Linked DNA regions of Homo sapiens: region 2 is linked to region 1. The links are contacts of gene promoters, found by promoter capture Hi-C in human tissues and cell types (Jung and others, 2019). All regions are on one chromosome and are shown on one strand. Each heading gives the region's core, a stretch centred on a gene start or on the middle of the fragment in contact. The rest is flanking DNA. Distances are from core to core; before and after follow the strand shown. Region 1 holds the start of FST (follistatin). Region 2 overlaps LINC02105 (long intergenic non-protein coding RNA 2105).

Region 1 (6,719 bases), core at 2,332-4,831:
CATTTCCTCAGTTATGATCTGAAAATAACCCTAGATGGCAAGAGTCATGGTGACTGATCTGTGCTGATTTGGAGCAGACATTCTCCCAAACAGATCAATACTATCCAAGGTGCAGCTGAAAAACAGGATGAGCTTGTATCACTAAACAAACACCAAGCTGCTTATTCAAAAGGGCAAAAGCAACACAGCACTTATGTTTTCCACAGTGTGTTTGCCAGTGACCTCAACCCTGACCTGCAGGGTCACCTTCTCTGGGACGAGAAGTAATCCTGTGTTGGGTCACCCTCTGGTACTGAGGGACTCCTATTTGTGGTGCCATTTTTTACAATGAGAGCTACTGTGTCTGCTTTGGCTTAGCCAAGACAATTACATGATGCCAAAACAACTAGTCAAGGCAGTCAATTTAGTCAAATGACTGGTCTGAGCATTTGGCATTACATAGACAAAAAATGAAATAGAAATGAAATTTTTACTTTTACCCAATCATACTGGAATTGTGAGGATACAACTTAAATTAATTTAGAAAGTTTTTGTGACATCAGTTGTTTCTATATACATAAACTAAAATAAGTATCTGGACAAACTAAATAGTTTTGCTCAAACATGGAAAATTTTTTGACTAGCCCCTCCAAATTGCTTCTATTCTAATCTTCATTTAGCTACACAGACCTTCCCCCAAAAAGGTAATCTTTGTGTATACTTGTATGACCCTTTTACATCAACATGTTATATGTACATATAGGAATGAACAAAATTAAAATCTAATAAGAACATACAAGTTATATCACTATTCTCCTTGCTATACGGTTATAAAATATGATGAGATTATGAACTTTAAAACAATCTTCCCAAAGATATTGAGAAAATAAATATGGATTAAAACGTGATTCTATATTTCTCCAGGCAAGATGACTTCATATACAACTAGGCATATAAGTAAAATTTAAATATTTTGTATAGTCCTAGGGTGGAAAGTCTAAGAAAAAGACCCCAGTTTCCAGAGGCTACTGGCCAATTCAGGACCAATAAATATATTTAAACTGGAGACAAATATAAAATCATGTAATTATGTATGATCATTGATAGCATTGCTGTAAGATCCAGTTACTTACCATCTGAGATCTTTTATGCATTTGGAATGTTTATTTTTCAACCTTGGATATACGGTTTGATACCTCTACCTTAAAAAGAAGCTGTGTCTCTTGCTGCCATTAAAAGACAGGGTAGGGGGAAAAGTCAAGTAACAATACTTGTTAGCTTCTCTTTCCTTTAACTTATCCCTGGGCAGGGGTGGGGGAACCTTTAAGCAGAGAAAACAAACTTTCCCTCCAGCACATCATTGTATAAGGACTATACCATTTCTCTGAATAAAGAAGAAATAAATTCAGCTTTGGAACTCTGCCATTGAGTGGCGGCTCCTGCAAAGGGGACAGTTTGCTATTAATTGTTAATGTCGTCTGCCATTAGAGGGCACTAAACAACTCTACATTAATGAGTTGGAGGGAAGAGAGAAAAGGAGACTGGAAAAGAAAGAGAGGGAGAAAAGGGAGGGAGAGTACGGGTAGAGTCTGGGTAGAGGGAGGGAAGGAGAGAAGAGGGGAAGGAGTAGGGGAAAGAGAGCAGAGGGAATGAGTTGGAGGACTGGAGGGAAAGGGAGAAGGGGAGAGAGACAGCGAGACAGAAACAGACAGAATGATTCTGGAAAGATTAAGAAGGATGTGGAGCCCCCACAGCCGTCTGAAGTGAGCAAAATCCAGTCTCCCCCGGGCCGCCCGAGCCCCTCCCCTCCCGTCCTCATGACGGTAATTATAAAGCGAAAAGCGGCGGCGAGGTCACCCGCTTTTACCAGCCTGCTGCACCGAATGCGCGCGGTGCAGGTGCGGCGGCCGCGGGGCTTTGTGATTCATGCCCACTTTCAAAGGGGGGCTTGGGCCCGTCTGAGAGGCACCCAAACAACTGTCTTCTAATATTAGCACGGCTGTATTTCGGGATCTATTATAGTCTGTCCAGACAGATCCCATTGTAATGGGATCTTTTATTAAAAGATTAGCACTATCTCCTGCAGTTGGTGGAAAAAAATCTGTTATCACTGAGTTATTTGCAGTTGTGGAGGGGGGAAGGTTGACGGAAGATGGGGGGTGGGAGGGCTAGAGGAGGACTGGGGGAGGGTCTGGCGGGGGGAGGGCAGTTGCAGGGGGGGAAGAAGGGCAGATTTGAAATTCGTAGAACAAATCCCAGTGACCTGCGAATGTCCAAGAATTTTGTCTGCATACTTCGCTATCTGTTGTCCTTCGGGCTTCAGATGCGAAAAGAACAAATTTAAAAGGCAGCTTTGGAATAAACAATATAGCATTTTCCGTGAAGTAATCGTTTTATATAAAAGGAAATATCGCCTCCTCAGTTTCATTCAGCGGTGCCAAAAATGTTATAAATGAGAGACCCGCCAACTTTCAGCGAAGAATGCCAGGCACTGTACTTAATAAACTGAGGCTACAGAAGTTCATTATGGATGTTGCAATCTTTTTTATTCCGCGAAAAGAGAGAAGACGAGACAGAAAGAGAGAGAGATTGGAGCCGAGGAGACTGAGAGACAGACAGAGGCACACAGGACAGAAACTGGGGAGTCTCCAGGCGGGAGAGGAAGGGGGGGCCAGACCGCCTACGTCGGCGCCCCCGCTCCGGGCTCCGACTCCAGACGCCGCGAAGTGAAAGGGGAGAAAAGAAAGGGAGAGGGCGAGGCTGTGCCGCGGGGAGACCGGGCCTGAGGTGTTAAACATTTTTGTTTGCTTCCGACTAGTCCAGACGAAGGGCCGCGTCTCGGTAGCGCTCTGCCAGGGTGGAAGGTGCCGGGGCCGGGGTTCCTAGCAACACCTCTGGGCTGGGGGTGGCTGCAAAGTCAGGCACTCACAGACCCAGACACAAAACCTCGCGGGTCCCGCGCCCAGGCTGCGGGTGCCCGGAACCGCCGCGAGGCCGGCGCGCTCCGACCCGACCCGGGGCGGGATATTTGGGCAGCCCGGGGCTCTTCGGCCGTTTGCAAAAGTCTCTTTGGAGCGGAGGAGAGGCAGCACGGAGACAAACTCCCGGGTTCCCCCCGCCACCGCCTCCAGCGCCCCCACCGCGCCCTCCCTCTCACACTCGCGCGCGCGCGCACACACACTCACACACACACTCACACACACACCCGCCACCCCGGGCGCGCCGGCGCTGCCGGCGAGCGGCGGCGAGCAGGACTTGAAGTGGGTGTTCTTCCCCACTCCCCACCCCCGACGCGTAGCCCCCAACCCCCGCCCCGGTCGCCTTCCCCCTCCCTCTCGCTCCTACGCAAATAAGAACTCGACGATTCCCTTCCAGCCGTTTTGATTTCGGGCACCTCCGAAAGATAATTGGGAAGGGTTTCCAGAAGGTGGGAAATGTCACCTGATTCACACTGAACTTTTGAAAGCTCCCCACCCCCAAGGAGCCGCGCACACCCTCGCTCGCGGCCGCCCTCCCACAGCCCCACACACTGGGAGACCGCCCACCGCAAACCGCGGAGACCCCCGTCTAGATTTAAAGCGCGGCTGCGCCCGGCTTCTGACGTCCATTGAATCGCGCGGGCGGCCGGCGGCGAGCGCGGGGCTGCGCCGGGATCGCTGCGCCCTCCGCCGCTGGCCTCTGCGACGCGCGCCGCTCGCCCGAGCCACCCGCCGCCGCGCCGGCTCCCCGCGCCGCTGCGCTCCTCGCCCCGCGCCTGCCCCCAGGATGGTCCGCGCGAGGCACCAGCCGGGTGGGCTTTGCCTCCTGCTGCTGCTGCTCTGCCAGTTCATGGAGGACCGCAGTGCCCAGGGTAAGCGAGTGGGGATGCGCTGGGGAGGCTTGGCTGAGGACAGGGGGGTCGACTTTTCTGTGGTCTCCACTTGGTCTGTTCTGAGCAACGCTGCTCTCGGAAGATGTTGAACCAACTTGGGGACTCCGGGATGGAGAGGAGTGGGAAAATTGTAGGCAATGACACTTTAGGACTGGGAACTGAGTTTGGAGCTCGGTTATCTTGAAAAAGGAAAGGGAGCGAGCTGGGGTCTTAGTAGTTAGGGTTAAATGCTCCAAGTTCTGGCCATGATAACTTTAGATGTGATCTCCTCTGTTTGGCTCTGAAGAAGGGAACAAGTATCAGTAGTAGCCTGGAGATTTCAGTCGACCCATTTGCAGTCTCATCTCTCTCCCTCCCACATCTTTTGGATACTTAAAAAAAAAAAAGGAAAGAAAGAAAAGAAAACCTGGGGGTTTGGGGGAGAGATACTGAATTTTATTTGGTGGCTGGGGGACGTGGTTTCAGAAACTTTGCCCAAACTTGGAAATGTGGGTGCTGAAGATTTTCAAGGGAAGTAGCTTTCTGCCTAGTGGATGCTTCTTCCAACCCCATCCCCCATTCTCGCAAAAAAAAAAAAAAAAAAAAAAAAGCCAAATTATTACCCCAAAGTGCTTTGAGCACTTTACAGTTTTTTTCCCCTCTGCCTCATTCTTCTTTCTGACCCTTAGCTTTCTGTAAAACAGTGAGCAGCCCATAACTGACTTAAATTCTGAAATGGGTTAAGAGCAAATTTCTGAAGCTTGCCTTTTAAAAATAGATTTGTTTATTTCAATTAGTCTTTGGGCAGAATGTTTAAAATAATAATAGCAGCTTGCGATCCAATGATTGTTAAAGTCATATTGGTGATTCATGAGAAGTCTTCTCGACCCAAATCCGAACATTAAAAAGGGGGAAGAGGGAGAAATCACTTGCAAATATTTCTTGCTAGGTATGAGATAGGTACTTATAACCGTGAAATGGTAGGAAGACTCCCCCCTCCCCCCACCTTAAGGCATTACTTTCCCTGCTTCAGCGTTAACATTTTAAGTATGTTGTAAACTGCCCTCCTGGGCACTGCCCCTCGCCGTCTGCATGGCACTGCGCTGGGTTGCCCGCCTTTAGAGGAGAGGCTCTGCCTGGTGCCCGGACGTGGGCGCGGAGGAAAGCAGCCCTCGGAGATTTCGAAAGATCGCGGTGGCCGCGGGCGTGCTCCGGTCTGGCGGATTGCAAAACGGGCCCGTCGGGCTGGCTGCGCCTGGAGGCCGCGCGGGGTAGCTCCGGGCTGGGCCGGGTTGCTTTTTTGCTTTCATTTTTCAGAAGTGCCTTTTGCTTGATCTGTTTCTCTCTCTCTCTCTTTCTTTTCTTTCTTCCTCTCTCTCTTTCTTTCTTCCTTTTTTTCTTTCTTTCTCTTTCTTTTCTTTCTTTCTCTTCTTTCTTTTCTTTCTTTCTTTCTCTTTCCTTCTCCCTCTCTCTCCCCTCCATCTCTCCTCTCTCCTCTCTCTCGTTCTCTTACTTTCTTAACCCCTGTCACAAATAATTCCTGTACCCGCCTACATGAAACCAGCATGTAAAAACATCCGTCGCATCCTGTTTTTGTCAGGTTCTTTAATCTGCTCTTCGAGTCTCTGCAGGTTATGAAATGGGACGAATAAAAGTAAACAGTCTAGTAAAAGTCAATGCAAGCTGCACGTGTTGTGTCTGGGTCACTGGTAACTGACATTGATATGGCTGGGGCGCCCTGTCTTCTCCCTCTCTCCCTCCCTCCCTCTCGCCCACCTCCCATCTCTGTGATCAGGGCTTCCCCCTCCACTGCCTTCTTTTTCCACCCCTCCACCCCTTTCGATTTATTTCCTACTTTTCTCCCGCGTCTCTCTCACTTCCCCTCCTCCACGCTCACCCCCTCCCCATCCCCGCCGGGTCTCCTTCGCTAGCCACCTCGCTCTCCCTGCCCTGCCACCGCTCACTGCTCACTCACCCACCTCCCCACCCTTGTCTCTTCACAGCTGGGAACTGCTGGCTCCGTCAAGCGAAGAACGGCCGCTGCCAGGTCCTGTACAAGACCGAACTGAGCAAGGAGGAGTGCTGCAGCACCGGCCGGCTGAGCACCTCGTGGACCGAGGAGGACGTGAATGACAACACACTCTTCAAGTGGATGATTTTCAACGGGGGCGCCCCCAACTGCATCCCCTGTAAAGGTAGGACTCCTTCTTCCCAACTTGCAGGCCCTCAGTAGAGGGCGTCTTACCCTTAGCTTCCCCACTACCTGACTGGGGTTTGGGAGTAGGAGAGCTTTGTTCCTGGGCTTCCCCTTCCTGTCCCTTGCCCTGGTAAGCCGTGCAGACTCTAATTCTGCCTGTTACAGGCTGTAGGGAATACACGCCAGACTTCTTAGCCAAGTGTGGTGGTGAAACCCACCAACCTGTGCTCCTTAATGAGAGAGATCTGGGTGTGGGGCACAGCCCAAGGTCCACACTCTTTCACCAACTCCCAATATTCCAGGAGAGAGCCTGGGGCCCCTCCAGCGCAAACTCAGGGCTGCATGATTGCGCAAGGCACCCGAAGCCCTCCTGGCTGACCTGCAGACTGCCTGGCTCTGGTTTTAATCCATGCCTGTTTCTAACTCACAGAAACGTGTGAGAACGTGGACTGTGGACCTGGGAAAAAATGCCGAATGAACAAGAAGAACAAACCCCGCTGCGTCTGCGCCCCGGATTGTTCCAACATCACCTGGAAGGGTCCAGTCTGCGGGCTGGATGGGAAAACCTACCGCAATGAATGTGCACTCCTAAAGGCAAGATGTAAAGAGCAGCCAGAACTGGAAGTCCAGTACCAAGGCAGATGTAAAAGTAGGTCCTACCCTGTTGAGCAAGACTGGATCTGTCCCCTCCTC
Region 2 (6,719 bases), core at 899-3,398, 320 kb after region 1:
AAAAGCACAGTATAAGCAGTGGAACATGCAATAAAAGGCATTGCACCAATTTTCCTTGTAAGGCAATGGTAACATATAAAGAATGAATTCAATCTCAACACCTCAAAACCTATAAGAAGCAAGGTGCAGACACCATGACCCCTTATTTAGTAGACATTTTGGGGTTCTGTGGGTATATTAGATTAAGCAGACACGGAAGAATTTTGTTATTGTCACTATGGTTAAAAGTAATTTGAGGTGTCCATTCCAAGATGGCTGAATAGGAACAGCTCTGGTCTGCAGCTCCCAGCATGATTGATGCAGAAGATGGGTGATTTCTGCATTTCCAACTGAAGTACCTGGTTCATCTCATTGAGACTGGTTGTAAAGCGGATACAGCCCACGGAGGGCAAGCTGAAGCAGGGCGGGGCGTCACTTTACCCTGGAAGCACAAGGGGTCATGGGGTTTCCCTTTCCTAGCCAAGGGAAGCTGTGACAGACAGCACCTAGAAAAACGGGACACTCCTGCTCAAATACTGCGCTTTTCCAACGTTCTTAGCAAACAGCACACCAGGAGATTATATCCCCCGCATGGCTTGGCAGGTCCCACGCCCATGAAGCCTTGTTCACTGCTAGCTCAGCAGTGAGATCAACCTGCAAGGCAGCGGCCCAGCAGGGGGAGGGGCGTCTGCCATTGCTGAGGCTTGAGTAGGTAAACAAAGTGGCCTGGAAGCTCGAACTGGGCGGAGCCAACCACAGCACCACAAGGCTTGCTGCCTCTATAGACTCCACCTCTGGGGGCAGGGCATAGTTGAACAAAAGGCAGCAGAAACTTCTGCAGACTTAAATGTCCCTGTTTGACAGCTCTGAAGAGAGCAGTGGTTCTCCCAGCACCGTGTTGGAGCTCTGAGAACAGACAGACTGTCTCCTCAACTGGGTCCCTGACTCCCGTGTAGCCTAAGTGGGAGACACCTCCCAGTAGGGGCAAACTGACACATCATACAGCCGGGTGCCCCTCTGAGACAAAGCTTCCAGAGGAAGGATCAGGCAGCAACATTTGCTGTTCTGCAGCCTCTGCTGGTGATACCCAGGCAAACAGGGTCTGGAGGGCACCTCCAGCAAACTCCAACAGAACTGCAGCTGAGGGACCTGACTGTTAGAAGGAAAACTAACAAACATAAAGGAATAGCAACAACATCAACAAAAACGACATCCACACCAAAACCCCATCTGTAGGTCACCATCATCAAAGACCAAAGGTAGATTAAACCACAAAGATGGGGAGAAACCACAGCAGAAAAGCTGAAAATCCTAAAAACCAGAGTGCCTCTTTTCCTCCAAAGGATAGCAGCTCCTTGCCAGCAATGGAACAACCCTGGATGGAGAAAACTTTCATGAGTTGACAGAAGTAGGCTTCAGAAGGTCAGTAATAACAAACTTCTCTGAGCTAAAAGAGGATGTTCGAACCCGTCGCAAGGAAGCTAAAAACCTTGAAAAAAGATTAGATGAATGGCTAACTAGAACGAACAGTGTAGGGAAGACCTTAAATGACCGGATGGAGCTGAAAACCATGGCACGAGAACTACATGACACATGCATAAGCTTCAATAGCTGATTCAATCAAGGGGAAGAAAGGGTATCAGTGACTGAAGATCAAATTAATGAAATAAAGTGAGAAGTTTAGAAAAAAAGAGTAAAAATAAATAAAGCCTCCAAGAAATATGGGACTATGTGAAAAGACCAAATCTATGTTTGATTGGTGTATCTGAAAGTGACAGGGAGAATGGAACCAAGTTGGAAAACACTCTGCAGGATATTATCCAGGAGAACTTCCCCAACCTAGCAAGGCAGGTCAACATTCAAATTCAACAAATACAGAGAACACCACTAAGATACTTCAGAAGAGCAACTCCACGACACATAATTGTCATATTCACCAAGGTTGAAATGAAGGAAAAAATGTTAAGGGCAGCCAAAGAGAAAGGTTTCGTTACCCACAAAGGGAAGCCCATCAGACTAACAGTGGGTCTCTCGGCAGAAGCTCTACAAGCCCGAAAAGAGTGGAGGCCAATATTCAACATTCTTAAAGAAAAGAATTTTCAACCCAGAATTTCATATCCAGCCAAACTAAGCTTCATAAGTGAAGGAGAAATAAAATCCTTTACAGACAAGCAAATGCTGAGAGATTTTGTCACTACCAGGCCTGCCTTACAAAAGCTCCCAAAGGAAGCACTAAACATGGAAAGGAACAACTGGTACCAGCCACTGCAAAAACATACCAAATTGTAAAGACCATTGAGGCTAGGAAGAAACTGCATAAAGTAATGGGCAAAATAACCAGCTAACATCATAATGGCAGGATCAAATTCACACATAACAATATTAACCTTAAATGTAAATGGGCTAAATGCCCCAATTAAAAGACACAGATGGGCAAATTGGATAGAGTCAAGTCCTATCAGTGTGCTGTATTCAGGAAACCCATCTCACGTGCAGAGACACACATAGGCTCAAAATAAAGGGATGGAGGAAGATCTACCAAGCAAATGGAAAGCAAAAAAAAAGGAGGGGTTGCAATCCTAGTCTCTGATAAAACAAACTTTAAACCAACAAAGATCAAAAGACACAAAGAAGGCCATTACATAATGGTAAAGGGATCAATTCAACGAGAAGAGCTAACTATCCTAAATATATATGCACCCAATACAGGAGCACCCAGATTCATAAAGCAAGTCCTTAGAGCCGGAGACTTTAACACCCCACTGTCAATATTAGACAGATCAATGAGACAGAAGGTTAACAAGGATATCCAGGACTTGAACTAAGCTCCGCACCAAGCAGACCTAATAGTCATCTACAGAACTCTCCACCCCAAATCAACAGAATATCCATTCTTCTCAGCATCACATCACACTTATTCCAAAATTGACCACGTAGTTGAAGTAAAGCACTCCTCAGCAAATGTAAAAGAACAGAAACCACCACAAACTGTCTCTCAGATCACAGTACAATCAAATTAGAACTCAGGATTAAGAAACTCACTCAAAACCAAACAACTACGTGGAAACTGAACAACCTGCTCCTGAATGACTACTGGGTACATAACGAAATGAAGGCAGAAATAAAGATGTTCTTTGAAACCAATGAGAAAAAAGACACAACATACCAGAATCTCTCGGACACATTTAAAGCAGTGTGTAGAGGGAAATTTATAGCACTAAATGCCCACAAGAGAAAGCAGGAAAGATCTAAAATCGACACCCTCACATCACAATTAAAAGAACTAGAGAAGCAGAAGCAAACAAATTCAAAAGCTAGCAGAAAGCAAGCAATAACTAAGATCAGAGCAGGACTGAAGGAAATAGAGACACAAAAGCCCTCCAAAAAAATCAATGAATCCAGCAGTTGGTTTTTTGAAGACATCAATAAAAAATTTTTTTTTTGGATTTTAAATTATTATTATTTTTTTATTTTATTATTATTATACTTTAAGTTTTAGGGTACACGTGCACAATGTGCAGGTTAGTTACGTATGTATACCTGTGCCATGCTGCTGTGCTGCACCCATTAACTCATCATTTAGCATTAGGTATATCTCCTAATGCTAGGCCTCCCCGCTCCCCCCACCCCACAACAGACCCCCATCAATAAAATTGATAGACCGCTAGCAAGACTAATAAAGAAAAAAACAGGGAGCCAAGATGGCTGAATAGGAACAGCTCCAGTCTACAGCTCCCAGCATGAGTGACGCAGAAGATGGGTGATTTCTGCATTTCCAACTGAGGTACCAGGTTCTTCTCACTGGGGAGTGCCAGACAGTGGGTGCAGCACACCATGCATGAGCTGAAGCAGGGTGAGGCATCACCTCACCCGGGAAGCATAAGGGGTCAGGGAATTCCCTTTCCTAGTCAAAGAAAGGGGTGACAGATGGCACCTGGAAAATTGGGTCACTCCTACCCTAATACTGCGCTTTTCCGATGGGCTTAACAAACAGCACACCAGGAGATTATATCCCACACCTGGCTCAGAGGGTCCTACGGCCACGGAGCCTCGCTCATTGCTAGCACAGCAGTCTGAGATCAAACTGCAAGGCAGCAGTGAGGCTAGGGGAGGGGCGCCCGCCATTGCCAAGGCTTGAGTAGGTAAACAAAACAGCCAGGAAGCTCGAACTGGGTGGAGCCTGCCACAGCTCAAGGAGGCCTGCCTGCCTCTGTAGGCTCCACCTCTGGGGGCAGGGAACAGACAAACAAAAGGCAGCAGTAACCTCTGCAGACTCAAATGTCCCTGTCTGACAGCTTTGTAGAGAGTAGTGGTTCTCCCAGCACGCAGCTTGAGATCTGAGAATGGGCAGACTGCCTCCTCAAGTGGGTCCCCGACCCCCAAGTAGCCTAACTGGGAGGCATCCCCCAGTAGGGGCGGACTGACACCTCACATGGCTGGGTACTCCTCTGAGACAAAACTTCCACAGAAACGATCAGGCAACAGCATTTGCGGTTCACCAATATCCGCTTTTCTGCAGCCTCCGCTGCTGATACCCAGGCAAACAGGGTCTGGAGTGGACCTCCAGCAAACTCCAACAGACCTGCAGCTGAGGGTCCTGACTGTTAGAAGGAAAACTAACAAACAGAAAGGACATCCACACCAAAAACCCATCTGTACATCACCATCATCAAAGACCAAAGGTAGGTAAAACCACAAAGATGGGGAAAAAACAGAGCAGAAAAACCAGACACTCTAAAAATCAGAGCGCCTCTCCTCCTCCAAAGGAACGCAGCTCCTCACCAGCAATGGAAAAAAGCTGGATGGAGAATGACTTTGACGAGTTGAGAGAAGAAGGCTTCAGAAGATCAAACTACTCCGAGTTAAAGGAGGAAGTTTGAACCAATGGCAAAGAAGTTAAAAACCTTGAAAAAAAATTACACGAATGGATAATTAGAATAATCAATGCAGAGAAGTCCTTAAAGGAACTGATGGAGCTGAAAACCACAGCACGAGAACTACATGACGAATGCACAAGCCTCAGGAGCCAATGCAATCAACTGGAAGAAAGGGTATCAGCGATGGAAGACGAAATGAATGAAATTAAGTGAGAAGAGAAGTTTAGAGAAAAAAGTATAAAAAGAAATGAACAAAGCCTCCAAGAAATATGAGACTAAGTGAAAAGACCAAATCTACGTCTGATTGGTGTACCTGAAAGTGACGGGGAGAATGGAACCAAGTTGGAAAACACTCTGCAGGATATTATCCAAGAGAACTTCCCCAATCTAGCAAGGCAGGCCAACATTCAAATTCAGGAAATACAGAGAACGCCACTAAGATACTTCTCGAGAAGAGCAACTCCAAGACACATAATTGTCAGATTCACCAAAGTTGAAATGACGGAAAAAATGTTAAGGGCAGCCAGAGAGAAACGTGGGGTTACCCACAAAGGGAAGCCCATCAGACTAACAGCTTATCTCTCGGCAGAAACTCTACCAGCCAGAAGAGAGTGGGGGCCAATATTCAACATTCTTAAAGAAAAGAATTTTTAACCCAGAATTTCATATCCAGCCAAACTAAGCTTCATAAGTGAAAGAGAAATAAATTCCTTTACAGACAAGCAAATGCTGAGAGATTTTGTCACCACCAGGCCTGCCCTAAAAGAGCTCCCAAAGGAAGCACTAAACATGGAAAGGAACAACTGGTACCTGCCACTGCAAAAACATGACAAATTGTAAAGACCATCAAGGCTAGGAAGAAACTGCATCAACTAACGAGCAAAATCACCAGCTAACATCAAAATGACAGGATCAAATTTACACATAACAATATTAACCTTAAATGTAAATGGGCTAAATGCTCCAATTAAAAGACACAGACTGGCAGATTGGATAAAGAGTCAAGACCCATGAGTGTGCTGTATTCAGGAAACCCATCTCACGTGCAGAGACACATATAGGCTCAAAATAAAGGGATGGAGGAAGATCTACCAAGCAAACGGAAAACAAAAAAAGGGAGGGGTTCCAATCCTAGTCTCTGATAAAACAGACTTTAAACCAACAAAGATCAAAAGAGACAAAGAAGGCCATTACATAATGGTAAAGGGATCAATTCAACAAGAAGAACTAACTATCCTAAATATATATGCACCCAATACAGGAGAACCCAGATTCATAAAGCAAGTCCTTAGAGACCTACAAAGAGACTTAGACTCCCACACAATAATAATGGAGACTTTAACACCCCACTGTCAACATTAGACAGATCAACGAGACAGAAAGTTAACAAGGATATCCAGGAACCGAACTCAGCTCTGCACCAAGCGGACCTAATAGACATCTACAGAACTCTCCACCCCAAATCAACAGAATATACATTCTTTTCAGCACCACAACACACCTATTCCAAAATTGACCACATAGTTGGAAGTAAAGCACTCCTCAGCAAATGTAAAAGAACAGAAATTATAACAAACCATCTCTCAGACCACAGTGCAATCAAACTAGAACTCAGGATTAAGAAACTCACTCAAAACCACTCAACTACATGGAAACTGAACAACCTCCTCCTGAATGACTACTGGGTACATAACGAAATGAAGGCAGAAATAAAGATGTTCTTTGAAACCAATGAGAACAAAGACACAACATACCAGAATGTCTGGGACACATTCAAAGCAGTGTGTAGAGGGAAATTTACAGCACTAAATGCCCACAAGAGAAAGCAGGAAAGATCTAAAATTGACACCCTAACATCACAAT

What was found. The method cuts DNA at HindIII sites, captures the fragments that hold promoters and counts their contacts. A contact is called where the count stands out against the background at its distance.
Region 2: a contact is called between a fragment that was not itself captured here and the fragment with the promoter of FST in region 1, in 2 of the 25 tissues and cell types used here (H1 embryonic stem cells and pancreas).

Annotation. Positions count from the first base shown.
Region 1 is chr5:53,477,048-53,483,766 of GRCh38, forward strand. FST (follistatin) reads left to right here and starts at 3,582. Exons shown (of 6, transcript NM_013409.3): 1 at 3,582-3,829; 2 at 5,833-6,024; 3 at 6,457-6,675. The coding sequence starts at 3,745. RefSeq lists an enhancer at 4,815-4,884. The HindIII fragment of the contact is 11,038 bases long and covers 1-6,719 here.
Region 2 is chr5:53,799,135-53,805,853 of GRCh38, forward strand. All of the region lies in intron 1 of LINC02105 (long intergenic non-protein coding RNA 2105), which reads right to left. Among named protein-coding and RNA genes, the nearest start is that of LINC02105, 17 kb to the right of the region's middle. RefSeq lists a silencer at 571-771. The HindIII fragment of the contact is 3,354 bases long and covers 472-3,825 here.